5 separate regions of the Homo sapiens genome follow, and all the other regions are linked to region 3. The links are contacts of gene promoters, found by promoter capture Hi-C in blood cells and fetal thymus (Javierre and others, 2016). All regions are on one chromosome and are shown on one strand. Each heading gives the region's core, a stretch centred on a gene start or on the middle of the fragment in contact. The rest is flanking DNA. Distances are from core to core; before and after follow the strand shown.

Region 1 (2,700 bases), core at 8-2,507, 240 kb after region 3:
GTGTAGTGAGGATTTCTGTCAAGTTGCAGAGTGGTTTACCCACCCCACTTTAGAATGTGTACCTGTCACTGGCTGATGTTATCTGTGGAGGTCATTTGAAGTCTGATTATTGGACTTGTTACCCGAGGCTGTGAAAGCATTTAACCCTTCACTTGTTCTTTTCCAGGACACTGACGACCGAAACAAGATGTCAGTGTAAGTGCCTTTTGTTTTGTTTTGTTTTGAGACAGAGTCTTGCTTTGTCACCCAGGCTGGAGTGCAGTGGCGTAATCTCAGCTCATTGCAACCTCCCCCTCCCAGGCTCAAGAGATTCTCCCACCTCAGCCTCCCTAGTAGCTGGGACTACGGGTGTGCACCACCATGCCTGGCTAGTTTTTGTATTTTTTGTAGACACGGGGTTTCACCATGTTTCCCAGACTGGTCTTGAACTCCTGGGCTCAAGCGATGCTCCCAAAGGGGATCCTCAGCCTCCCAAAGTGCTGGGATTACAGCCATGAGCTACCGTGTCCAGCCCAGTGCCTGTCTTTTTGACCTGTCTCCAAATCTGCCTTCTCTCAAACCTAGGCTAGAAGCCTAAGAAACAGCCAGTAACCTGTTGGCTTCATTCCTTCCCCTCCCATTAGAGTTACTGAAAGCTCTCGAAATTACGGTTACAATCCTTCTCCTGTGAAGCCTGAAGGACTTCGCCGCCCACCTAGTAAGACTAGTATGCATCAAAGCCGAAGACTCATGGCTTCTGCTCAGTCCAACCCTGATGTAAGTCACCTCAAGCTTATTCAGAGTCTAATAAAGGAAAATGGGCCATTGTCACCTCATCAAGTCCTTCACTATAATTACTGTTAGGTCTTCTCCTACTTCTTTAGCCTTGACTTCCTGCCTTATTTTCTTTCATCCAGCATCTAATCTTCCTCTTGCCACCGCCCTTTCCTGCCAAACCGTGGGTAACAGCAAGGACTTAAAGGAGCCCTTCCCATTTACTTCTCTTACTTCTTACCCTCCTGCTTCCCCAGGATGTCCTGACACTGTCCAGCAGCACAGAAAGTGAGGGGGAAAGTGGGACCAGCCGAAAGCCCACTGCTGGTCAGACTTCGGCTACAGCGGTTGACAGTGATGATATCCAGACCATATCCTCTGGCTCTGAAGGGGATGACTTTGAGGACAAGAAGAACATGACTGGTAGCCTGGAAAAATTTTGGGAATGGTGGGAAGAAATAGTAAGAAACTTGGGATAGAGCATTTTTTAAGGAAGCTAAAGAAGTAGTGGGTAAAAATTCAGATCCTAAGAATTGGAGCATCTCTGGGAGGGCTTTCTGACTCCAAGCTAAACTATTGTTTGACACATCCTCTCTCATTTCCATTTTTTTACTCTTTCCCCTCAGCTCCTTTGTCTAGCAGATCTAATTATGCTTGAAAAAAAAACCTGCTACTTAGGATCTTTGAGTTCCAGCTTATTGGTGTTTCTCAGCTGCAATGTTGGGAGAGAAATAGGGGTAGAATGTCCATTCATGATAGAATGTCTGTTCATGAGTTGGGATGGGTCCTGACCCCATTCTCCCTCCTGTCCAGGTCCAATGAAGCGTCAAGTGGCAGTAAAATCAACCCGAGGCTTTGCTCTTAAATCAACCCATGGGATTGCAATTAAATCAACCAACATGGCCTCTGTGGACAAGGGGGAGAGCGCACCTGTTCGTAAGAACACACGCCAATTCTATGATGGCGAGGAGTCTTGCTACATCATTGATGCCAAGCTTGAAGGCAACCTGGGCCGCTACCTCAACGTGAGACCCCTCTCCCCACCTCTAGATGCTGGATTATCCCATGGTCCTCAGATTTCTTTTAACATACTCTATAAGCCCTTTTCTTGTTATAAACTCTTGATCTCAAAGGATCTTAAAGAGGTAGCTTTCTTTCAAAGCATCTATTATAATGGGGAGGGTCAGATGGCATCATTTTTCTTCCAACTCTCACTCTCCCTGCAAAGCCAGGTTCAGTTTCCCTGGTTCTTATTTGATCCTGTCCTTAAACCTACAGCACAGTTGCAGCCCCAACCTGTTTGTCCAGAATGTCTTCGTGGATACCCATGATCTTCGCTTCCCCTGGGTGGCCTTCTTTGCCAGCAAGTAAGGAGTCAGGAAAGGGGATGACTGGGGAGGGGCAAGGACCACTGAAGTTCTAAGGGCCCCTCCTCCATTCATGATCCAACTCCACCTACATATTCAGTAACCCCAAGTGCCTGGGTTATCTGCTGTCTTTGCCACACACCATCCTTTTCTTCCTCTTCAGAAGAATCCGGGCTGGGACAGAACTTACTTGGGACTACAACTACGAGGTGGGCAGTGTGGAAGGCAAGGAGCTACTCTGTTGCTGTGGGGCCATTGAATGCAGAGGACGTCTTCTTTAGAGGACAGCCTTCTTCCCAACCCTTCTTGAACTGTCGTTTCCTCAGGAACTGGGTCTTCCTGATTGTTGAACCCTGACCCGAAGTCTCTGGGCTAGCTACTCCCCCCAGCTCCTAGTTGATAGAAATGGGGGTTCTGGACCAGATGATCCCTTCCAATGTGGTGCTAGCAGGCAGGATCCCTTCTCCACCTCCAAAGGCCCTAAAGGGTGGGGAGAGATCACCACTCTAACCTCGGCCTGACATCCCTCCCATCCCATATTTGTCCAAGTGTTCCTGCTTCTAACAGACTTTGTTCTTAG
Region 2 (2,700 bases), core at 192-2,691, 140 kb after region 3:
CAGAGCGAGACTCCATCTCAAAAAAATAAAAAATAAAATAAATAAATAAAAGAAATATTAGGCCGGGCATGGTGGCTCATGCCTGTAATCCCAGCACTTTGGGAGGCCAAGGTGGGCATATCACCTGAGGTCAGGAGTTCGAGACCAGCCTGGCCAACGTGGTGAAATCCCATCTCTACTAAAAATACAAAAATTAGCTGGGCGTGGTGGCGCACGCCTGTAGTCCCAGCTGCTTGGGAGGCTGAGGCAGGAGAATCCCTTGAACCAGAGAGGTGGAGATTGCAGTGAGCCAAGATCACACCACTGCACTCCAGCCTGGCAAAAGAGCAAGACTCTGCCTCGAAAATAAATAAGTAAATAAAAATAAAAGAAATATTAAAAGACTTCTTTTAGGACAGGTGAAGTGGCTCACGCCTGTAATCCCAGTACTTTGGGAGGCCAAGGCAGGAGGACTGCTTGAGCAGGAGTTTGAGGCTGCAGTGGGCCATGATTGTGCCTCTGCACTCCAGCCAGGGTACAAGACCCTGTCTCTAAAAAAACCAAAAAGAAAATTTTTAAAGACTTCCTTTAATATATTTTTCTGATTACCAATCATACATGTTCATTTCAAAAATCTGAAAAATCAAAAACAAAAGAAACCGTAAGTCACCCATAATACTATTACCCAGAAATGTGGTATATATTCTTTCAGTTTTTTCCTATGTACATGTTATACATATCTTTTGACAGTGAAATACTATAATACTGTAACCTTTCTTAATAGATTGTGAACATCTTTCTACACTGAAACATATTTGTCGCTTATAACTACATAGCATTCCATTTTAAATATACTATGACTTTCTCAAGTGATGCCCTAATTTTGATATTTATAATACTTTTGTTTGTTACTGTACATAAACATAACACAGTGTTTAAAGAGTAAGCTACAAAGCTAAACCCCTAAGGTTCATATCCTATATCTGACACTTACTAGCTTTACAATCTTAGAAAGTTACTTATTCAGCTTATGCTTCAGCAAATGGTTAAAATCTGTAAAGCTACTGAACATATAACAAGTCTTAATATGTTACTCATGTTACCACTGAACCCAAGCATCACTCTTCCATTACTATTGGTGGGACAAAACTTAAAGACTGGTTATAATTAGCTGCACAATTTTTAAAAAGAAAAAGAAGGAAAAAGGAAAATTTAATACCAAAAAGTAAATAAAATAGTGCCCATTCTTCCAGGCCCCTCTAAGGCAACCTCCTTTCTGAAGCTTTTCTCAGTCTTTACCAACAAATGCATATTTCCATACACAGAAAAACATAGTATCAAATTTGTTCCTAACAAAACTAGGCATATTCTATCATATATTCATGTGTATAATAATTATTTCTATCAGAACACAACCAACTTAGAAACAAGGACTGTGTCTTATTCATCTTTGTATCCTACTTGGAATCAGCACAATGCCATAACACTAATTAGGAATTTAATAAATACTTTTGGAGCTGAATGGACTCTGCATTCCAAACCAAGCAACATATCAATAACTTAGAAGACAGCTATTCTAGAGCTCAGCATTCTCTAAATTCAGAAAAGCAGCCTACCAAAATGATTTTGGGAAAACAGAAACAAAGCTTAATGAAAGCAGCAAACAGTTTTCTCAGGCATAGTAAAATCTCTGGGCTTAGCTACAGTCCTTTATCTTACGGAAATTTTGGTTTAAAAAAAGAACTGCTTACGGGAAACTTGGATAAAAACAAATTCTTCATAAACAAAAATACAGGGACTAAGGAGACTTATATGACAGTAGTGTAGTAAGTAATCAAGTTGAAGTGAGATGGTCAGGAATAGCGAAGTGAGTTCAGCAACTAAATAAATTCAGCAACTAAAGTTGGTTTATAGGAGAGATATTCATAACACACTACACTCAAACTCACCCTGGTCGCCGCTTAATAGCCCTCTGGACAATGGCTCCTCCACCTTGAATTCCAGGTCCAGAGTTTCCAGAGGCAATGGCTGGACCCAGTGATGGTACATCTGATGTCATTTCTGTCAGGAAAATAATGAAGTAAACATTTTTAAAAAGACAGTCCTTGCTTATCATCAGTATCATCAAGTTAGCTAAAAGAAAGGTTCAAGCTATAGACAAAATCTCAGCAGTTTGCTAAAAATCCCAAATGCTCATATCCAGATTGCTCTTCTTGATTTTTTTTTTTTTTTTTGAGACCAGGTCTCACTCTGTTGCCTGGGCTAGAGTGCACTGGTATAATCACTGGTATAGGTCACTACAGCCTCAAACTCCTGGGCTCAAGCAATCCTCCCACCTCAGCTTCTGGAATAGCTAGGACTATAGGCCCGCACTACCACACCCAGTTAATTTTTTTTTTTTTTTTTAGAGATGGGGTCTTGATATGTTGCCCAGGCTGGTCTTGAACGCCTAGCTCCAAGAGATCATCCTGCTTTGGCATCCCAAAGTGCTGGGATTATAGGCATGAGCCACCACACACGGTCTCTTCTTGAATTCTTACACTGGTACAAGATATCCCCATACTTCAGTTCCCCCCATGTCATAGAGTTTGGAAGAAGTACTATATTCTGCAAACTTCATGTTAAAAAGCTTATACATACATAACAATATACTAATATTGTATAGACTTAATAATATACTAATTTTAAAAAAATACATACATAAATGGGTTTATACATTTC
Region 3 (2,700 bases), core at 95-2,594:
ATACAAGCTTTAACTTAGAGCTCATTTTTTTCCTCTAACATTTCAGTTTACCACATATAAAATTCAAAACAATTTTATGTGAATAAATTTGAATTTCTTTAATTAAAATAGAGTCTTCAAAAACGTAGAGGTCGATATTGCAGTAGAACCATTTTGAGTAGGGTCCTGATTTGAAGCCATTTGACTAGCAAGTCTCAAACAAATGGGTTATTAAGAAACTGTTTAAGAGAACTTTTTAAAAAGGCACAATCTTCCTATTTTTATTCCCTATACAAATTCAAACAATGACAACATTGTACAGGTAGGTATTCAGTAATGAAAAATTGCCTGGCAAACCCTCTAAACTTTTTCAGTTTTATTTGTTTTTATTTTTCATTTTTTTGAGACGGAGTTTCGCTCTGTCGCCAGGCTGGAGTGCAGTGGCGCGATCTCAGCTCACTGCAAGCTCCGCCTCCCGGGTTCAAGCGATTCTCCTGCCTCAGCCTCCCGAGTAGCTGGGACCACAGGTGCCCACCATATATATATATACAATTTTTTTTTTCGAGACGGTGTCTCTCTCTGTTGCCCAGGCTGGAGTGTAATGGCGCGATCTCGGCTCACCGCAACCTCCCCCTCTGGGTTCAAGTGATTCTCCTGCCTGAGCCTCCTGAGTAGCTGGGACTCCAGGCGTGCCACCACGCCCAGCTAATTTTTGTATTTCTAGTAGACACGGGGTTTCACCATGTTGGCCAGGAAACTCCTGACCTCGTGATCCGCCCGCCTCGGCCCCCAAGGTGTTGGGATTATAGGCGTGAAGCACCGTGCCCGGCCGCTAATTTTTTTTTCTATTTTTAGTGGAGACGGGGTTTCGCCATGTTGGTCAGGCTGGTCTCAAATGATCCTCCGGCCTCAGCCGCCCAACTTGCTGGGATTACAGGAAGTTGTGTGTCCGGAACCACTGTGTCCGGCCCCAGTTTCACTTTTCTTAATCAGACAATTCAGCTGGAAGAGTTTACTAAAGAGGCAAACTTCATAGAAGAACCTATTTACGTTAAACGTTTAAATTTATCCTGACAAATCCTGAATTCGCCGTCCGTACTCACCCCATCTCAAGAACCTCTGTTGACAAGTAAGTGGGTATACATTTTTACCGCAAATGTTTTACCACTAAGACCTTAAGAAACTTAAAAGTAGGGGGAAGCTGACAGACAAAGAGATTAAAAAGTAAAATATACGCACACACACACAGATATATACACACTAATATATATTACATTACGTCTGAGGGGCGGGCGCCGGAGACCAGAAGAGCTGCACGAGGCTGCACGCGCTGTGCCCGACGCGCATGCGCTTTCCTTCAACGGTCACCCGCTGGGGCGCGACAGTGGCTTTTTGACCCCTGGTCGAGGTCACCTTTCCCGCCAAGCGCAGCGCAAGGCGCACTGGGAGCCTCAGACACGGGAAGCCTCAGCGCCACGTCTCAGGCAGTGGAAAAGCCAGACAGAAGGGGGAAGGTTAAGTAACTGCATGTGCAGTTACTGAATTTCTGATTGTTTTTCTGACTTTTGATTTTCTTTCTTTTTTTTTTTTTTTTTTTTTTGAGACGGAGTTTTGCTCTTGTCGTCCAGGCTGAAGTGCAGTGGCATGATCTTGGCTCACTGCAACCTCTGCCTCCAGGGTTCAAGCAATTCTCCTGCCTCAGCCTCCCAAGTAGCTGGGATTACAGGCGTCCGCCACCATGCCCAGCTAATTTTTGTATTTTTAGTAGAGACGGGGTTTTGCCATGTTGGCCAAGCTGGTCTCAAACTCCCGACCTCAGGTGACCTGCCTCCCTCGGCCTCCCAAAGTGCTGGGATTACAGGCGTGAGCCACCACACCCGGCTGACTTTTGATTTTCTCATTGGAACTACCACAAATTGCATTCCCACCTTCCAATCTCCTGTATCTTCAGGAAACCATTTGCTTTAGCAGTCTTCTACTTAGCCACTTCCACTGTGTTATGTCATTGGGGACAATGGATAGCTTTGAATGTAATTTGTCTCATTTAGAAACAAAATAAAATCAGAGTGGGTAGGTATTAATAGTTGGAGATTATTCAGTAGTACAAGCTTCTTAGTTTACAGATTATTATATATCCAAATACATTTCTTACCAGTGTAAACATTCAATTACAGGCATACCTTGGAGATATTGCAAGTTCAGTTCCAGACCCTCCAATAAAGCAAACAACATAATAAAGCAAATTACACAATTTTTTAGTTTTCCATGTGTATAAAAGTTATGTTGGCTAGATGTGGTGGCTCATGCCAATAATCCCAGCACTTTGGGAGGCTGAGGCGGAACAATTGCTTGAGGCCAGAAATTGGGGATCAGCTTGGGCAACAAAGTGAGACCCTGTCTCTACAAAAAATAAAAAAAATTAGGCAGAGGTTGTGGCACACACCTGTAGTCTCAGCTACTCAGGAGGCTTAGGCAGGAGGATCCCTTGAGCCCAGGAGTTTGCAGTGGCAGTGAGCCCTGTTTGAGCCACTGCACTCCTGCCTAGGCGGCAGTGAGACTTGTTTCAAAAAAAAAAAATTATGGTTACACTATTAATATCTTAATATATATATATAAATTTTTTTTTTTGAGACGGAGTCTTGCTCTGTCTGTCGCCCAGGCTGGAGTGCAGTGGTGCGATCTCGGCTCACTGCAAGCTCCACCTCCTGGGTTCACACCATT
Region 4 (2,700 bases), core at 196-2,695, 170 kb after region 3:
CTTTTTACGAAAAGTTAAACTTTCATCTGAGAAGGGATGTCTTGAGCATAGTCTCTTTTTGAGGAAAGTTGGGGGGACCTCTGATTAGTCCTATTAGCCAGAGAGTGTCTTTGATTTTAAGGATTATAGTAAAAAAAAGCTGCATTATTGTGTTTCTTCACCATCATCTCTCTCTTTGCACTAAACTTATGGCCAGGAGAGAAAAACTGGGTCTTTTTAGTATTTTGGTCTTCTTCAAGAATGGCAGGTCATTGCAGGTGGGAAGAATGAAGTGATCTGGAAAAGGAACACAGAGAAAGGAAAAGGTAATGGATCTTTCTGGAACTGAAAGTGGAATTGATGTTGCCAAGGATTTGTAAATGCCATTATTCTGATTCTTACTTTAGTAGGTCCAAATTTAACATAAACCAATAGCTTCACACCACACCTCCTTTCTCCTACTATAATCCCAAGAAGTGCTGCTACTCATCTCAAACAAAACAAGAACCTTAAAAGCCACTTAAAAAAAATTCTAAGACAGGTATTCCCTTTGGAAAACAGATTTTAGCTCTACCATTTTTGAAAGTGTATTTCTCAAGAAAAGCTATTTTGCATAAGAATTAAATTTGTTGTGACTTTTCCCCCCATTTTGAAAACATTTTACCTAATTTATTTTTTTTTTTTTTGAGACAGTCTCACTCTGCCGCCTAGGCTGGAGTGCAGTGGCGCGATCTTGGCTCAATACAACCTCTGCCTCCCAGGTTCAAGCAATTCTCCTGCCTCAGCCTCCCGAGTAGCTGGGACTACAGGCGTGCACCACCATGCCTGGCTAATTTTTTGTACTTTTTAGTAGAGACAGGGTTTCACCATGTTGGCCAGGCTGGTCTCGAACTCCTGACCGAAGGTGATCCCCCGCGACCTCGGCCTCCCAAAGTGTTGGGATTACAGGGGTGAGCCACTGCACCTGGCCCTAATTTTGTATTTTAAATCTTTTATTCTTTCCTTAAAGAGAGACCCCCATGTTGTATAAATTTTAGGCCATACAAAATCTGGATCACTGCATATGAAAATGAGTAAAAAATATACATGGCATACTTAGAAACAAAACAGCATTTTCCTTTCTAATAAGAATGTATTTTATTATTTATTTATTTATTTATTTAGACAGGGGCTTGCTTTGTCACCCAGGCTGGAGTGCAGTGGTGCGATCATGGCTTACTGCATCCTTGACCTCCTGGGCTCAATCGATCCTCTCACATCAGCCTCCTGAGTAGCTGGGAGGGACTATAGGTGCGTGCCACCACGCCAGGCTAATTTGATTTTGTTTTTGTTTTTTTGTAGAGATGGGGTCTTGCTATGTTGCCCAGACTGGTCTCGAATTCCTGGGCTCAAGCAATCCACCCGCCTCAGCCTCTCAAAGGGCTGGGATTATAGGAATGAATCACCGTGCCTAGCCGATCTCACTCTACTTCTGAATTCCAGTCCCACATTTTAGCCTCCTGAGCATATTGTATCAGTGCATTTAAATTCAGCCTACCTCAGACTGATTTCATCCTAGTACCTTAAAATATCTGCCACTCCTCTGGGTGCAGTGGCTCACGCCTGTAATCCCAGCACTCTGGGAAGCCGAAGCGGGCGGATCACGAGGTCAGGAGATCGAGACCATCCTGGCTAACAGGATGAGACCCCGTCTCTACAAAAACTTAGCCGGGCGTGGCAGCGGGCACCTGTAGTCCCAGCTACTCGGGAGGCTGAGGCAGGAGAATGGCGTGAACCCGGGAGACAGAGCTTGCAGTGAGCCGAGATCGCACCACTGCACTCCAGCCTGGGCGACACAGCAAGACTCTGTCTCAAAAAAAAAAAAAAAAGCAACTCCTAAAATAAATAATTCTATGAATGGCATCATTTTTCTTTCAGCTTTCCAAATTTAAGCCCAGGAGTTTTCTTTATCACTTCCTTCTTCTTCCCACTACATGTCCACTTAATTTCCAGGTCGTCACAAATTCTCTTTCACAATCTCACATCCATTCTTTCCTTTCTGTTACTCACTGTGTTATCCTAGCCCTTGTTTCCCCTTGTTGAGACTGCTAAAACTCCTCTTGTTGTTTTCACCCTATAGTGTGTGTTAGCTCCAATACTTTTTACGCACTCTTGCCAGTTATCTTCCTGAAGTATGGCTTTGATCATTTACCTGCCTGAATTCAACAAGTATGAACTGTTGTATGCACTATGTGCCAGACACCGATAGAGATTCATATTAATTCATTCATGTAGACGTATTAAATACATAAAATATGCCAGCCCTCCCCAGGCACTGAATCCATGCTATGAATGGGACAGACACCTAGAGCTTACATTCTAGTTAGAATCAATGGGATACACAGTAAGATATGGCCCCTGCTCCCAAAATGTTTATCTGCTCAAAACCTTCCATTGCTTCCCGATACCTGAAAGAACAAAATTCAAAGTCCTTGCCCTGACTTTCAAGGTTCAGTATGGTCCTGTCTTAAGCAACAGAAGTATAGTATCTAGATGAATAATCTTGAGTTTGCATGCATCTTGTATTCTGTATTGGGCACCACATTTTAAAAGGAATATAGACACACTAGAAAATCTTCAGTAGAAAAAGGGTAGAGTGGTAGACCACATCCTCTGAGAAACCAATCAAACGTACTTAATAGCTATTTTTAAATTACTGAAACTCTTGTGTATGGAAAAGAT
Region 5 (2,860 bases), core at 162-2,661, 180 kb after region 3:
AGTAATGTTAAACTTTTCACAAAGATGGTGAGTACCATCTTCAAACTTACTGGAGATTGGTTTTATATTTAGATTTATATAACTGGTTATGTGAATATATTTGAATACTGGAGAAATTCCTTCACTGTCTCAGAACCAAGCAAGATTCACCTGTGTTTTGTGTCCATAAAGGCAAGGGTTGAAGATAAATAAGGTAGTAATGTCTACTTTATATTTTTGGCCTTAACTATGCCAATCTAATTAGAATTCCCTGTATTTAAAATGGTTCCTTTTACTTATTGAAAGACATTTTAGTGTGTTTTATGTGTAATATCAAAGATTATTTAGCATTTCTCACATTTTATAAATGATCTATAAGGTCACATGCTTTTAAAATAGTAGCAAGTTAAACTTCACTCTTGAATGCTTGTCAAACTAAGTTATAATTTAGGATAGTCTTTAAACAGCCATTCAGAAACATAAAACTGTAGAACTGCTATGTATTTGTGATTGGGAATGATGCTTTTGCCAACTTAAAAGGATTAAAGTAGAGGAGATACACACAAATTTTAAAATTATGTGTGATCATAAGACAAGATAATCAAAAAGAAAACCACACACACACACACACACACACACACACACACACACACACAAATCACCCTTCATAAGGAACTTGCAGAATCTGCCAATTCTTTTTTTTTTTTTTTTTTTAGGCCGAGTTTCATTCTGTTACCCAGGCTGGAGTGCAAGGGTGTAATTTTGGCTCACTGCAACTTCTACCTCCCGGATTCAAGTCATTCTCCTGCATCAGCCTCCCAAGTAGCTGGGACTACAGGCACACACCACCATGCCCAGCTAGTTTTTGTATTTTTAGTAGAGATGAGGTTTCACCATGTTGGCCAGGCTGGTCTCGGACTCCTGACCTCAGGTGATCCCCCCCAACCTCGGCCTCCCAAAGTGCTGGGATTATAGGCATGAGCCGTGGCACCCGGCCTTATCTGCCCATTCCATCTGCACATCTGGGAGGAGTCCAGGGGGTGGCATGAAAACCCAGTGTAAAAGATATGAGTGCAACTTACCCTGTTGCCCCAGAATTGTGGTCAAGTCTTATTGAAGGCACAATACTACTTATAATCTAAAGAAAGCTGCAACAATTAGAGCCAGAACCTCTTCCAAATCTCATGAGAAGATGGCGTAGTCAATCGTATATCCACCAACTCCCACCCCTTGTCCCACCACAGTATATATAAAGAATAAGGCCGGGCGCAGTGGCTCACGCCTGTAATCCCAGCACTTTGGGAGGCCGAGACGGGCAGATCACGAGGTCAGGATATCGAGACCATCCTGGCTAACACGGTGAAACCCCATCTTTACTAAAAATACAAAAAATTAGCCGGGTGTGGTGGCAGGCACCTGTAGTCCCAGCTGCTCGGGAGGCTGAGGCAGGAGAATGGCGTGAACCCGGGAGGCGGAGCTTGCAGTGAGCTGAGATCACACCACTGCACTCCAGGCTGGGCGACAGAGCGAGACTCCATCTCAAAAAAAAAAGAAGGATGAACTGGGGCCGGGTGTGGTGGCTCATGCCTATAATCCCAGCACTTTGGGAAGCTGAGGTGGGCAGAGGGTTGCTTGAGCCCAGGAGTTTGAAACCAGCCTGGGCATCATAGTAAGGCCTCGTCTCTACAAAAAATTTAAAAATCAGCCAAGTATGGTGGTGGGCACCTGTAGTCACAGCTATCCAGGAGGCTGAGGCAGGAGGATCACTTGAGCCCAGGAGGTTGAGGCTGCATTGAGCTATGACCATGCCACTGCACTCCAGCCTGGGTGACAGAGTGAGACCCTACCTCAAAAACAACAACAACAACAACAAAAAGAATGAACTGGGAGGGCAACTGGGAATTCTCATTATCGGCATTATGGGATGTACAAAATTTGTGATGAGAAGCAAAGATAAAAGTACTTCCCCTTCCTCCCAAAGCCAAAGATGAGGGCATGCCAAGAGAGACATTGGTACAATTGGTGACACCAGCAAGGAGAGACTAACAGCATTTCATTCCCTAGATAGATGCTTTAAACTGTAGAACCTGCCAAACCACTCTGGTCAGGTTGGAGTAAAGCATGGTGTGAGTTTTTAACCTGTGCAAACATAAAAAATCATGTCAATTTCTTGGCTACAGAGATCTGAAAGTGGAAGGCCCACTGGAATAATCTGTGCTGGCAGGGTTTATAGGTACCTTGGCAGAGTATGCCTAGGAAGAAAATGTGGCCAATCCCCCCAACCCATCACAGTCTGGCCACTCCCCTTGAAGGACTTCAGGTGTCTCCGAAGGAGCAGGAGCAGTGGGAGGTGCCAGGAGACCACTGTACCAAGCCATGTGATATCCAACGTGAGTTTAGGTTGGGAGAATAGAGGATAAGCAGCACCATTTGAAGGGGTCTTCAATGACAGAAAAGTCCAGAATGAAGAGAAACGCTACTCAAAAAACTACAAACATCCTTCACTCTGAAACCACCAGATCTAACCAGAGTAAGACCAGGTCACCTACTCACAGTTGGCCACAGCTGATTCATTAAATAGAGAAACACTTCACATTTTCCCCTTCCTTTCTTCCTGATCCTGTACAATGCAGAAGAAGAAGCCTGAAAAGGGAGAAGAGCTAATAGAACTCTAAATCCTCTATAAGATTAGGAATTTAAAACTGAACTAAGGTTTTACAAAAACCAGCTTTATTAAGATATAATTCACATACAATTCAACCATTTCAAATGTACAATTGAATGGTTTTTAGCACATTCACAGAAATGTTTTACCATTACCACAGTTGTAGAACATTTTTATCACCTCCAAAAGAAAACCTGTATCATTTAACTTTCACCC

What was found. Contacts are between HindIII fragments. The CHiCAGO score rates a contact against its expected background, and 5 or more counts as called.
Region 1: a fragment that was not itself captured here is called in contact with the fragment with the promoter of HORMAD1 in region 3 in 1 of 17 cell types (M1 macrophages); the score reaches 5.1 in M1 macrophages.
Region 2: a fragment that was not itself captured here is called in contact with the fragment with the promoter of HORMAD1 in region 3 in 4 of 17 cell types (M1 macrophages, endothelial precursors, M2 macrophages and 1 more); the score reaches 7.1 in M1 macrophages.
Region 4: a fragment that was not itself captured here is called in contact with the fragment with the promoter of HORMAD1 in region 3 in 1 of 17 cell types (endothelial precursors); the score reaches 5.1 in endothelial precursors.
Region 5: a fragment that was not itself captured here is called in contact with the fragment with the promoter of HORMAD1 in region 3 in 2 of 17 cell types (M2 macrophages and erythroblasts); the score reaches 6.7 in M2 macrophages.

Annotation. Positions count from the first base shown.
Region 1 is chr1:150,961,964-150,964,663 of GRCh38, forward strand. SETDB1 (SET domain bifurcated histone lysine methyltransferase 1) reads left to right here. Exons shown (of 22, transcript NM_001366418.1): 17 at 167-195; 18 at 624-756; 19 at 1,011-1,176; 20 at 1,567-1,778; 21 at 2,032-2,120; 22 at 2,284-2,700. The coding sequence ends at 2,401. Among named protein-coding and RNA genes, the nearest start is that of CERS2, 12 kb to the right of the region's middle. The HindIII fragment of the contact is 977 bases long and covers 770-1,746 here.
Region 2 is chr1:150,856,421-150,859,120 of GRCh38, forward strand. ARNT (aryl hydrocarbon receptor nuclear translocator) reads right to left here. Exons shown (of 22, transcript NM_001668.4): 2 at 1,929-2,040. Among named protein-coding and RNA genes, the nearest start is that of ARNT, 19 kb to the right of the region's middle. The HindIII fragment of the contact is 364 bases long and covers 1,260-1,623 here.
Region 3 is chr1:150,719,551-150,722,250 of GRCh38, forward strand. HORMAD1 (HORMA domain containing 1) reads right to left here and starts at 1,345. Exons shown (of 15, transcript NM_032132.5): 1 at 1,254-1,345. The HindIII fragment of the contact is 2,080 bases long and covers 6-2,085 here.
Region 4 is chr1:150,887,569-150,890,268 of GRCh38, forward strand. The region is part of intron 1 of CTXND2 (cortexin domain containing 2); the gene reads left to right. It also overlaps a transcript of LOC107985204 not described here. Among named protein-coding and RNA genes, the nearest start is that of CTXND2, 1.8 kb to the left of the region's middle. The HindIII fragment of the contact is 3,730 bases long and covers 1-2,700 here.
Region 5 is chr1:150,904,470-150,907,329 of GRCh38, forward strand. All of the region lies in intron 1 of CTXND2 (cortexin domain containing 2), which reads left to right. It overlaps LOC107985204 (a long non-coding RNA gene), which reads right to left. Exons shown (of 3, transcript XR_001738231.2): 2 at 2,533-2,622. Among named protein-coding and RNA genes, the nearest start is that of CTXND2, 19 kb to the left of the region's middle. The HindIII fragment of the contact is 6,110 bases long and covers 1-2,860 here.